Linked DNA regions of Homo sapiens: region 2 is linked to region 1. The links are contacts of gene promoters, found by promoter capture Hi-C in human tissues and cell types (Jung and others, 2019). All regions are on one chromosome and are shown on one strand. The core of a region is centred on a gene start or on the middle of the fragment in contact, and the rest is flanking DNA. Distances in the headings are between cores, read along the strand shown.

The links. Contacts are between HindIII fragments. The study calls those that stand out against the background at their distance.
Region 2: a fragment that was not itself captured here is called in contact with the fragment with the promoter of PPP6C in region 1 in 1 of the 25 tissues and cell types used here (dorsolateral prefrontal cortex).

The regions. Positions count from the first base shown.
Region 1 is chr9:125,186,372-125,192,541 of GRCh38, reverse strand. It overlaps PPP6C (protein phosphatase 6 catalytic subunit), which reads left to right and starts at 2,739. Exons shown (of 7, transcript NM_002721.5): 1 at 2,739-2,898. The coding sequence starts at 2,824. RefSeq lists enhancers at 2,462-2,541, 1,844-2,630, 2,631-3,417. The HindIII fragment of the contact is 9,567 bases long and covers 1-6,170 here.
Region 2 is chr9:125,750,620-125,756,371 of GRCh38, reverse strand. All of the region lies in intron 2 of PBX3 (PBX homeobox 3), which reads right to left. Among named protein-coding and RNA genes, the nearest start is that of PBX3, 6.1 kb to the right of the region's middle. RefSeq lists an enhancer at 279-1,717. The HindIII fragment of the contact is 5,452 bases long and covers 1,352-5,752 here.

The sequences.
Region 1 (6,170 bases), core at 1,490-3,989:
ACGCAATTCTCCTGCCTCAGCCTCCCAAGTAGCTGAGATTACAGGCACACACCACCATACCCGGCTAATTTTTTGTATTTTTAGTAGAGACAGGGTTTCACTATATTGACCAGGCTGGTCTCAAACTCCTGACCTCATGATCCGTCCGCCTCGGCCTCCCAAAGTGCTGGGATTACAGGCGTGTGCCACCATGCTGGGCCCTTTTTTTTCCCCCAAAGGACACAAGTACAGGTAAGAAAATGTAGTTTTTTGTTTTTTTTTTTTTTTTAGACAGGGTCTCACTTTCTCTCCCAGGCTAGAGTGCAGTGGTGGGATCTCAGCTGGTCAGGAACTCCTGACCTCAAAAAGACCTGCCCGCCTCGGTCTCCCAAAATGCTGGGATTACAGGCGTGAGCCACTGTGCCCAGCCAAAGGTAGACCTCGTCTACTCCATTTTTCTTGCTTATAGTACCTCCTATTTTCCCTTTTGAGTACTAATCACAATTTGCAATTAAATATTTGCTCACTGCCAGGTATGGTGGCTTACACGTATAATCCCAGCACTTTGGGAGGCCAAAGCAGCGGAATAGCTTGAGGCCAGGAATTTAAAACCAGCCTCAGCAAGACCTCACCTCAACAATTTTTTTTTTTTTTCTGTTGGCCAGGCTGGAGTGCAGTGGCACGACCTCAGCTCCCTGTAACCCCCACCTCAAAGCAATTTTCATGCCTCAGACTCCGGAGTAGCTGGGATTACAGGCATGTGCTACAATGCCCAGCTAATTTTTGTATTTTTAGTAGAGATCAGGTTTCACCATGTTGGCCAGGATGGTCTTGAATTCCTAGCCTCAAGATATCTGCTCACCTTGGCTTCACTACTGGGATTACAAGTTTGAGCCACTGCACCCGGCCTCAACAAAAACAAAAATTTTAATTACCTCACCCTATGCATCTCTTCATTTGTATCCTTTGTAATATCCTTTATATTAATAATAAACCAGTAAATGTAAATAAATAAATAAATACTGTTTGTCTCTTCCCAGCAGATTGTAAGCCTGATTAGGGCAGGGATCATATCTGTTTTATTCACATCATAAGCACTGTGTAACCTCTGGTTTCTTTTCTCTTTGAGATGGAGTTTCACTCTGTGGCCCAGGCTGGAGTACAGTGGCGCCATCTCAGCTCACTGCAACCTCTGCCTCAAGCAATTCAAGTGATCCTCCTGCCTCAGCCTCCCCAGTATTTTGTATTTTTAGTAGAGATGGGGTTTCGGCATGTTGGCCAGGCTGGTCTTGAACTCCTGACGTCAGGTGATCTGCCTGCCTTGGCCTCCCAAAGTGCTGAGATTACAGGCATTAGCCACCGCGGCCTGGCCAATAGGCACTATGTAACTATTAGTTTAATGAATGAAGAAATGAATGCTTGTGGGCATCATTCATTCTGCAACAAACTTCTAAAAATTAATTTTACTTTGAAACAATTTCATACTTTCAGAGGAGTTACAAGAATAATACAAAGAAGTTCACCCAGATATCTCATTCAGGGTTAGCCAATTGTCCACAAAATATACTTTAGAGAGCAAGAGGATTAATTCCAGGGTCTCTTGAGCAACAAATATTTATTGAGCGCCTGCTACTATTGGATTACATAACAGTCTCTTAACTGGTCTCTTAGCTATAGGCATTGCACCCCCACCCCTAGTCCCATACAGCAGCTCCTTTTACTAATTTATTTTTGAGGAGGATCTCGCTCTGTCGCCCAAGCTGGAGTGCAGTGCCGCGATCTCAGCTCACTGCAACCTCCGCCTCCCAACTCAAGCGGTTCTCCTGCCTCAGCCTCCAGAGTAGCTGGGACCACAAGCACGCACTACCGCGCCAGGCTAATTTTGGTACTTTTTGTAGCTACAGATAGAATAGAGATCTTTGTCTATTTTGTTCACGAAGTACTGCAAGCGCCTTGAGCTGTACCTGGCACATCTTTGTTGCTCAGCAAAGAGTGGTTGGATAAACGAACGCTGAAGGTATGCTAGTACCAGGTACTGTTCTCGGTGCTGGAGTTACAGCAAAAAACTCCCTGCCCTCGTGGGATTCTCACTGGAAGCATGCTTAAGCTTAAGCCATTTTTCAATCTTGACCCCACCATTTTGTTCCCTGTGAGATTTGGGGTGAACTGCAGTTTCCTAGCCTCACTTTCCTATCAATCGTTACGAAGATTAAAAGGAAAAATATCATTTGTATCGCATTTAGCATCAGAAATGCTTTAATAATATTCGTTTCCCTTCCTTTCAGGCTGGAAGACTGGGGCCTGACATCTCTGCCACAGGCTTAGGCGAGGTTTTCACAGGGACTTGGAAAGGTGCAAACGGTTACTACGGCCAGGCTTACCCAATTGTTAAGTGAAGATATTCTGGAGAGTGCTTAAAAGGGTTGGAAAAACAAACCAGTGAGTGGCTAGGACCACCTACTCCGCTGTTTTGCCTCGGAAAAGCCTCGCCGGCTGCCGGGAGGTGAAAGTCTGGAGGAACGGGAGGAAAAGAGAGGGGTGGCTGTCCACAACAGAAAACTACACATCCCAGCACCCCCGCGGCAGACGACTACGGGTCCCAGCAGGTTTCGCGGGGTGGACCGAAGCGGGCTCTCTTGGGGCCTGCAGTCGGGGTTCAGCCAGAGGGGGCGCCGGGCGTACCGACGTAGCGGGGAGAAACGGGTCGCGCTTTAACGGCGCTGCGCAGGCGCCACTCACGGGCCGGACGTGACGCAGGGAAAGTTCCGGCTTCGGCCTCCGCCGCTGCCGCCGCCGCTGCTACAGCCGCCGCCGCCGCTGTTGCCGCGGCTTGTTATTCTTAAAATGGCGCCGCTAGACCTGGACAAGTATGTGGAAATAGCGCGGCTGTGCAAGTACCTGCCAGAGAACGACCTGAAGGTGAGCCCTATTTGCGGGCTCGCCCCTTCCGGCTGTGGGGCGCCCGCCGGCCGGCCCTTCCTTTCTCCAGGACCCCCGCCGGGTATCCAGTCCAGTCGCGGTGGAGGGCCTCCCCCATTGCCAGTCGACCCGGTCCTACCCGGCGTCACGCCGAGGGTCTCGCGAGCCGAGTCGTCGAATGCTGTCCCGGTTGCCTCAGTGGGGATCCCGAGGGATGTCGCGGCCTCTGTCCCAGGGTCGCCCCTTCTGGCCTTCGGGCTGCCCCAGGACCCGCAGCTGTAACAGCTTTATTTAGAAGGCTCGGCTCCCCACCCCATCCCTGGGTCTCCCGCAGTCGGAGCCGAGCCCCCGCGGCAGTGCCCTCGGGATGGGGTCGCCTCCACCGGAGGTGACAGGAGCGCGGAGTGGCCGGCGTCTGACAGGAGATGCCACCGGCTACCGGAACGCGGCCTCAGTGTGTTTAGGTCTCTGAGGAAGGGGAAGGCGGTGGGCCCGAGTGGTTTGGTACTGGCGGGAGCGAACGTCAGGTCGTCCCTCTTCATTGCCACTCCTCCAAATTGCTTTTTAGGATCGTCGGTTTTGCTAATTCAGAGGTGAATCCCGTTTCTGAGTATGTTGTTGAGCTTACTGAAGTGGATAAAGTAGTTGGTTCTCAATAAATACAAATACTTTCTCCTTAACCCCTTCTTAACTCAGTATTTCATTTTCTTCGTTTTCTAAAGGAGGTGAGTTCCTTGTTACTCCTGAGTCCAAGTAAGAGTAAATGTATGTATGGGTAAAGGAATGACTTTGGTATACTGCTTTTCTTTTTTAAAACTTTTTAATTATTATTATTATTATTATTATTATTGTTTTTAACTGAGATAGAGTCTCACTCTGTCACCCAGGCTGGAGTGCAGCGGTGCGATCTTGGCTCACTGCAACCTCCACTTCCCGGGTTCAAGCGATTCTCCTGCCTCAGCCTCCCGACTAGGTGGAATTACAGGCGCCCGTCACGACGCCCGGCTGTTTTGTATTTTTAGTAGAGACGGGGTTTCGCCATGTTGGCCAGGCTGGTCTTGAACTCCTGACCTCAAGTGATCCGCCCGCTTCGGCCTACCAAAGTGCTGGTATTACAGGCGTGAGCCACCGCGCCGGCCTAGGTATACTGCTTCTTTGAAAAGTGTTTCTATGCATTTGCTGAAATCAGAGCTTAGGTTTCTAGCAGTGCTTATCAGCTCGTGCTAGTATTTAACCGACTCAGTGTATTCTTTTTTTTTGAGACGGAGTCTCGCTCTGTCGCCCAGGCCGGAGTGCGGTGGCACCATCTCGGCTCACTGCAACCTCCGCCTCCCGGGTTCACGCCATTCTCCTGCCTCAGTCTCCCGAGTAGCTGGGACTACAGGTGCCCGCCACCACGCCTGGCTAATTTTTTGTATTTTTAGTAGAGACGGGGTTTCACCGTGTTAGCCAGGATGGTCTCGATCTCCTGAACTCGTGATCCGCCCGCCTCGGCCTCCCAAAGTGCTGGGATTACAGGCGTAAGCCACCGTGCCCAGCCCCGACTCAGTGTATTCTTAAGGAAATATATTACTGTGGGTTTTGTTTTATTTCTTCTTTGTACAGTAAGTTGATACTTAACATCAGTCAACAAGTATGCATAATATTTGAGGCCACACGTGCTGTTGTGAATGTGACTGAATTGTACTTACCTGTTAATTTTATGTGGCATATGATAGGGGAGTCATTCTTGTGCATTTTCCCGTTTTTAATAGAATAATTTCAAATAAGGACAGCCTTCGTTAGTAGTAATGTAGCATTTGTGCTCATCTGAGTCCTTCAGACATTCCTTTTGTGGCTTCTTTCTGCTATGTGGTTTTTTTAAGGGAATAAGAATACAACTAGCATTGGGACCCAATTCATGGAAAACTAACCAGACCTCTTAGTAGCATTATTAATCCCATAGGTGAGGTTGACTATTGCATGTCAGTGAATTGACATGGAATTTTTTCTTCTTATTTATCATGCATAAAGCTTTTTTGAACTTTGTGTTTATGATGAATAAAATGTTGCTTTTTATGAAAATGTGTCTAGGGCACAGTGGCGTAATCTCAGTACTTGGGGAGGCTGAGGTGGGCAGATCATTTGAGATCAGGAGTTTGAGACCAGACTGACCGACTTGGTGAAACCCCCTCTCTACTAAAAACACAGAAATTAGCCGAGCATGGTGGTAGGTGCCTGTAATCCCAGTTTACTTACTTGGGAGGCTGAGGCAGGGAGAATGGCTTGAACCCGGGAGAATTGCTTGCAGTGAGCCGGGATCACACCACTGTACTCCAGCCTGGGAGACAGAGCAAGACTCTGTCTCAAAAAAAAAGAAAAGGAAATTGGGCACTGAAATGATTTGAAAGATAATCTGGCCAGGTGCAGTGGCTCACGCCTGTAATCCCAGCACTTTGGGTGGCTGAGGCAGGTGGATCACTTGAGGTCAGGAGCTCGAGACCAGCCTGGCCAACATGGTGAAACCCCGTCTGTACTAAAAATACAAAAATAAACTGGAGGTGGTGGCAGGTGCTTGGAATCCCAGCTACTTGGGAGGCTGAGGCAGGAGAATCGCTTGAACCAGGGAGGCGGAGGTTGCAGTGAGCCAAGATTGCGCCACTGCAGTCCAGCCTGGGTGACAGAGGGAGACTCCGTCTCACCAAAAAAAAAAAAAAAAAAAAAAAGAAAGAAAAATCTGTTGGACTTCTTTGTACCTCTTAGTTTGATAAACATTAGATTTCCTTCTTACCTTAAGGAAGTACAATTTTTAGACCATTTTATTTCTTGTTGAAACATAGCTGCATTGTACTTGACTTGTATTTGTTTCTTTTTTTTTCTTAAAAAAATTTTTAATCTTTTTTTTGGTGGGGGAGCGGGGACATGGTCTCACTCTCACCCATGCTGTAGTGTGGTGGCACAATCATGGCTCATTGCAGCCTCGACCTCCTGGGCTCAGGCAGTCCTCCCACCTTAGCCTCCTGAGAAGCTGGGACCACAGGCACATGCCCCCATGACCAGCTAATTTTTATTTATTTTTTTGGTAGAGACAGGGTCTTGCTATGTTACCCAGGCCAGTCTTGAACTCCTGGGCTCAAGCGATCCTCCCACCTTGGCTTCCCAAAATGCTGGGATAACAGGCATGAGCCACTATACTTGGCCTGTATCCATTTCTTAATAAACTTAAAAATATATGTTTTGGGCAACCAAGACAAAAGTATTCTGAATTTTTCTTTATAGGTAGAGACTTTTTT
Region 2 (5,752 bases), core at 2,828-5,327, 560 kb before region 1:
GTATTCATTCATGTATTTCTCCCCAGAATATAAGAAATATCACAAAATAGCTTTATAGAGAAAAATTCAGAGGCCTAGCTTAGGCCACAAAAGTCAACAAAATCTGAATCCAGTATGAAATTCCATCTTCCACACAAAATGTCATCAGTAATCTTACCTATAAGATATATGCTGAAATATAAATTCCACAGGTTGTATAAAGGGCAGTTTAACCATGAATTATAATTGTTACAGCTTTTATGGATTCAAGTCAGAATGTTAATACTCATTTAATATAGTTTTCTGAAGCCCAATTCAACTTCTTCCTTCCTTCCCTAGTGAAGAAAATATCCTTGTGAAGTTCAATTTAGTGACATTGGTGCACAAGCCCATACACAGAAGTTTACACTTCTGAGAAGAGATAAGTGATAAACAGTTCATTAGCCATGTTAATGAAATTATGTTTTAGGAAAAAAAAGACTAGGTGACACAAAAATTTTAGTATATTTTTATACAGAAACATTACAATAAAAACTTTATATTCAGTATCTCCAATTAGGTCAATTAATATTCAGAAAAATCCTGTAACATTTCATTTAAATAATCATAGGAGGGGGAAAAAAGAATCCACCAATGTTCTGGAAGCTTCTCTAGACCTTTCAATCAATTTTATTTATATGCAAAACCAAGAGAAACTCAAAAAAAAAAAAAAAAAAAAAACAAAGCTCCTCCTGATGCTAAAGCTCTCAATTTACTGACAGGCAAATGGCTTCATGCTGCCACTTAATCTCATTTCTTGCATAATGCCCTCTAATTAGCATATCAAAGTGAATTAATACTTCTAGGGCATTAGCAATGGGGAAATCTGCTCCAGGCTCACAATAGCAGTTAAGAGAGAGCCAAGAAATCCTCAAAAACACCACAAACCACTTTGCATTGCAAAACTGTTCAATTTATTTATCCTCTCTCTCTAAACACTTTTACCGCACACTGTTTTACTACTGTTCACCAAACAAAATGATAATTGCCAAAGTTACCAGCATCTGTAATGCCTGTTTAGAATCTTAATTTAGACTGTTGCAGATAATTTCTATATGCAACCATTTGTTCTATTATAAATGTTAATATAGAGACAGTGAAAATGTTGACATTCTCAATTAGTTAATTTGAATTTGAAATAAAATTTTATGGGATTTTAAAATTTATGAATTTTTTAATGTAAAAAGCCACCTGCTGGACTCTGAAGCCTAAGAAATATGCTTTGAAAACTGATGTATCACATAAAAGAAAACAAAACAAACAAAAAATCATTTTGCCATAACATGTTGAGTCTCACAAATAATGGTTTAAACATTGTGAGGACTCATCAGCATTAAAAGGATTACATTGTATACCAAGTCCTCATTAATATGATCACTAAAAAAGAGTTATTGTCTAAACAGCTTAACATTTTTAAAGCACTTAAGTTGAAAGAAGTAGAAAACTTTTAACAATTATTTTTATCCATAAATATTTTTAATTGCTTTCATACTAACCTGTTACTATTACGTAGACAGTTATACAAAAAAAGTTACGCCAATTCAGTTTGATACATTCTATCACACCAATTTTTTTGCTAGATATACACTCAAATTTAGTGCCAAAGTAAACTAGTTACCATTAAAACCTACAAACATATTATACTATGGAATATATCTATGAAAAAATAATACAGAAGAAATTCTTGTTGCAATTCTGCCTACAAAAGGGATAATTAGAATCAAGTGTTGAAGATTAATGAAATTTATTTTTTAATATGTTCTGAGTTTGAAGGCATAAAAAGGTGGTTTATTTTTTCAGTAGCTCATTCAAGAATTACTTATTATTTGCTAAATATAGCACTGTCAACTAGATGTGATAGCAATTTGTCTGATTAACTTCAATAACTTTGTAAAAAATCAGATAGCTAGTTCTGAAAAACTTTTACCAATTTATACTACATAGTGATATAAATTATTTACTCTCTTCATACTTGAAGACTCAAATGGCCTACTGAAGTAGAGCAAATGCTTGAAAAGGTCAACACGGGCTTGAGGGGGAGGTGGTGGTAATGTGTAAGCTTTGTTAGTCAGTTAATACCTAAATCATGCTGATCACACTGATAAATGGCTAAAACACAAGACTGCTGAGAAAACAAAACATTATTCTCATAATGTCAATATTGAACTAATAAATATCTAAAGATGTTCACAAACACGAATAGGGAAAAGATAATCTAAAACCTTATATAACTTGATGTGTTAGTGCTGATGTGTTAAGCATTTATTCTAAATAGATACCTCAGGGTAGAGTACAAAATAAAGTGATGACTGACTTAGGGTGTGGTTCACGAAATGCAGTTTCAATTCTTATAGTCCCACTTCATATAATGTAACTTCATCCTATACCATGCCACTATAAAGTATCAAAATATAAATAATCCAACTAATACGTTAATTTAAATTTGCCTCAGAAGTAACCTTTTACAAAATTTATAAATTGAGATGGAAATATACAGGCAAAATTAATTAAAAGGAAAAGCATCATAGTATGAAAAATGTAGACAAGTACATTTTATGAAAGCCGATCAACCAGTGTGCTCTTTGGGGCAAGTCGGGGCCTCCTTTGCTAGTGTATTAAAAGACTTCTAATTCAGAATAAAATTATGTAAATTAATAAAATAACATAGTAAAGTCCCAAATAAAATACCAAAACTATTCAAATCTGTAATAAAATGAGGGTCATTAAAACTAAGGAACAAAAGAATTACTTGCACAGATCAAGTTAGTATTGACAAGAGAGTTCAATACATTTTTATTGGGAAGAAAAAAATAAAGAACAGGATTGGAAAATGTCTCTATATTTTAAAGATAATATCCACATGATACTTTAGATCATGAGGTTCTAAACCAGCTTGGCAATGAGATTTTTCTCCAGGTTTTCTACAAATGTATTATATGTGCTATTTTGTTAGGATGGAAATGGAAGAATAAAGAAGTAGAAAAATCCCTTTCTTTTACAACTTCTCTGAAAACCTCCTACAAAAGCTCCAGTAAGATACCAAATCTATAAAAATAGAAAAAAAAAAAGGTAAAATATTAAGTTAAGAAAAATATATTGATAAAGCAATATAATTTATAACATTTCCAAGATACTCTGACTTTGTATTTTTCCTGTTTAATCACTTAATATTTCCAATATAAGCAGACCTAATGCTTAAAATTGATATGAAACTTAAAACATTAAAGAACCATTAAAATTTGCTTCAAAATAATTTTGGAATGGTGGGAATTACAGAGAAAACACGACTGGCCAAGTATTGCTAATTGCTGAAGATGGGCACTGAGTTCATGGGAGGTTCAAGAGTCTCTGCTCTCTGCATGTTATGTTTCAAAGGTGTCCACAATAAAAAGTTGTTAAAATCTTGAAAATAAGTTCATTAAAACAAAATGTGTTTCATGAAAACACAAAAAGGAATCATGTATGGAACAGTGCATTTGTTTTTAAAACTTGAAACAAAAGATGATAATTATATTGGAAATAGTGCAAGAGCAACTTAAAAGCATATGCAAAATATATAATAACATTTAGACTAATATATAACAATTTTCACCTTTCTTGCTAAATTTTCACTTGAAAAAATTGATTTTTACATATGTAGAATTAAAAGAATCACACAGCACTGTACAAAGAAAAATGTAACAGATTTTTATATTGAAACCTTAAAAAGAGAAGCACACCAAAAAAAGACTCCAAAGAGTCTCTAAACCTGTGGGTTCACAATTAAATAGAGAGGTGTCGAATGACAGTACTGCCTTGTCTCTTTGAAAGCTAGTCACACTTCTAGCAATAAAGATAAAAGGTTTAATCTCACATCATATACTAAATGCACATAAAACCTCACTTGTAAACTATACTCTTGATCTAGTTTTAATATCTAAAATTCTTATGACTCTTTCTAGGGAGGGTTCCTTTAAAAGTAAGGCATTTTTACTAGTCATTTTCTTCTCCTTAAACATAAAAAATACTTCAACCAGCCCAACCAACCAAGCAGGCCTTTCTCTTCCCCTGCGGACACCTCCTGCAGTAGAGAAGTTCATTAAGTTTTATGATCTTCCCAAGTCAGTCCTACTTATAAGCCTCACAAAGGCTACAAATCTGGCAAACCATCATGTATGCCATTAGACATTACTAGTAAATGAACGCTATTTAGGGTTTGTGGTGGCAATAAATCAGAGTTTGGTTGGCAGCCATCAACATGGAGTATTTTAACCTATTATTTGAAAAGGAAAAGGTTGTGTTTATTTTTTTTCATGCATAACATTTTTCACAATAATGTGATTCATATTATCTACTAAAATGTGGGATTTCATTTAAAAAATAAATATTTTTTTCTTGAAAAAGAACTATTTCCTTCACTTAAACTCGCACAATTAAGGGCTTTGGAAAGAAGACAAGATTTTTCAGGATGAAATATTTCACAAAGGAAAGCACTTCAACAATTAAGATTAAGATGACCAAAAAGAGGTGGGGGCATACACCAAAAGAGGTATGCAGGTGAGCAGACCTTGTGGCATCAGGGATATTTAATAAGAGACAGATGATAAAATATGGCTTTAAAAATCAGGAGAAAAATCTTAACATATCAACAATAATCTCACTGGTTACTTGGTTTAAAATAAACAACTATTTTTATTTTAAAGCCTACAACTTTTTGGGTGCTCTCAAAATGCACAAATATCACAATTCAACAATGAGAGACATTTCTGCCCAAAAATAATGGTATGATCAATTTTACGAAAGAATATATTCTCAAGAAAAAGCAGCATCTTATAGTAGAAGTATACTTTCCTTACCTCTCAACAAGAAAATAATATAATTGTAGTAGATTACCCATTTATCTGTCAGAAGGGAAAAATACCTTTTCATATATGGTAGAGGGGGAAACAGATGTTTTCTAAACTAAATCCCCCATGTGCATAAGAACTGGCAGTGTTCACTGCCTGATCAGAAACCTCAAAATCCACTGGCAGAGCTACAAATAAACAGATTTTTTTTAAAATGATTTTGTTTTGTTTTAGAAGAAAAGCACAACTGAAATGACATTATCCACTGAAATGACAGTTCACCCTCAACCCCCTTCATTAAGCAGAATAGAGTCATCAACATAATGTTTCTGGTTTCTATTCATAAATGACTAGGTAAACTTTCTCTAAATTACAAAGAATTAATTTTTAGGTATTATTAGATTAAATAAAATGATTTTTAAAAAATATTTATGCAATATACATATATTCTACAATGTTTCTTTTATAAGTTCATGTTTCTAAAGCATGACCGACTATGGAAGCAGGAGTGGGGGGGCTTGGAATTTGCAGCCCCGCTTTCTTTGCTTTGGTAACACTAATGTCTACACAGCTGTTTTATTTCGAATTGAGGATTCTGAGTCCCTGTCTCATTCTAAGACTAGTTTTGGAGAGTGAGGTGAAGCTATGGGTAGTAGGGGAGAATGGAAAGAAGAGAAAGAGCTTCACCCCCATCAATCACTCAGTACTTAAATCCCATCCCTCTCGAGCTTAGAGAGGCTAGCAGGAAGATGCCTCTACCCAGACAGCCGCCTTTACTCTTTGTCGGCTGTTGGCTTTTTACAAAAGAGATAACGTGCAAATGTGGATCCACTGGCCAAAGCACAAAAAGAGAATCTAATTTACAAGTTATCACTGAAAGCCCCAGAAACAATTTTAAAACACAAAAA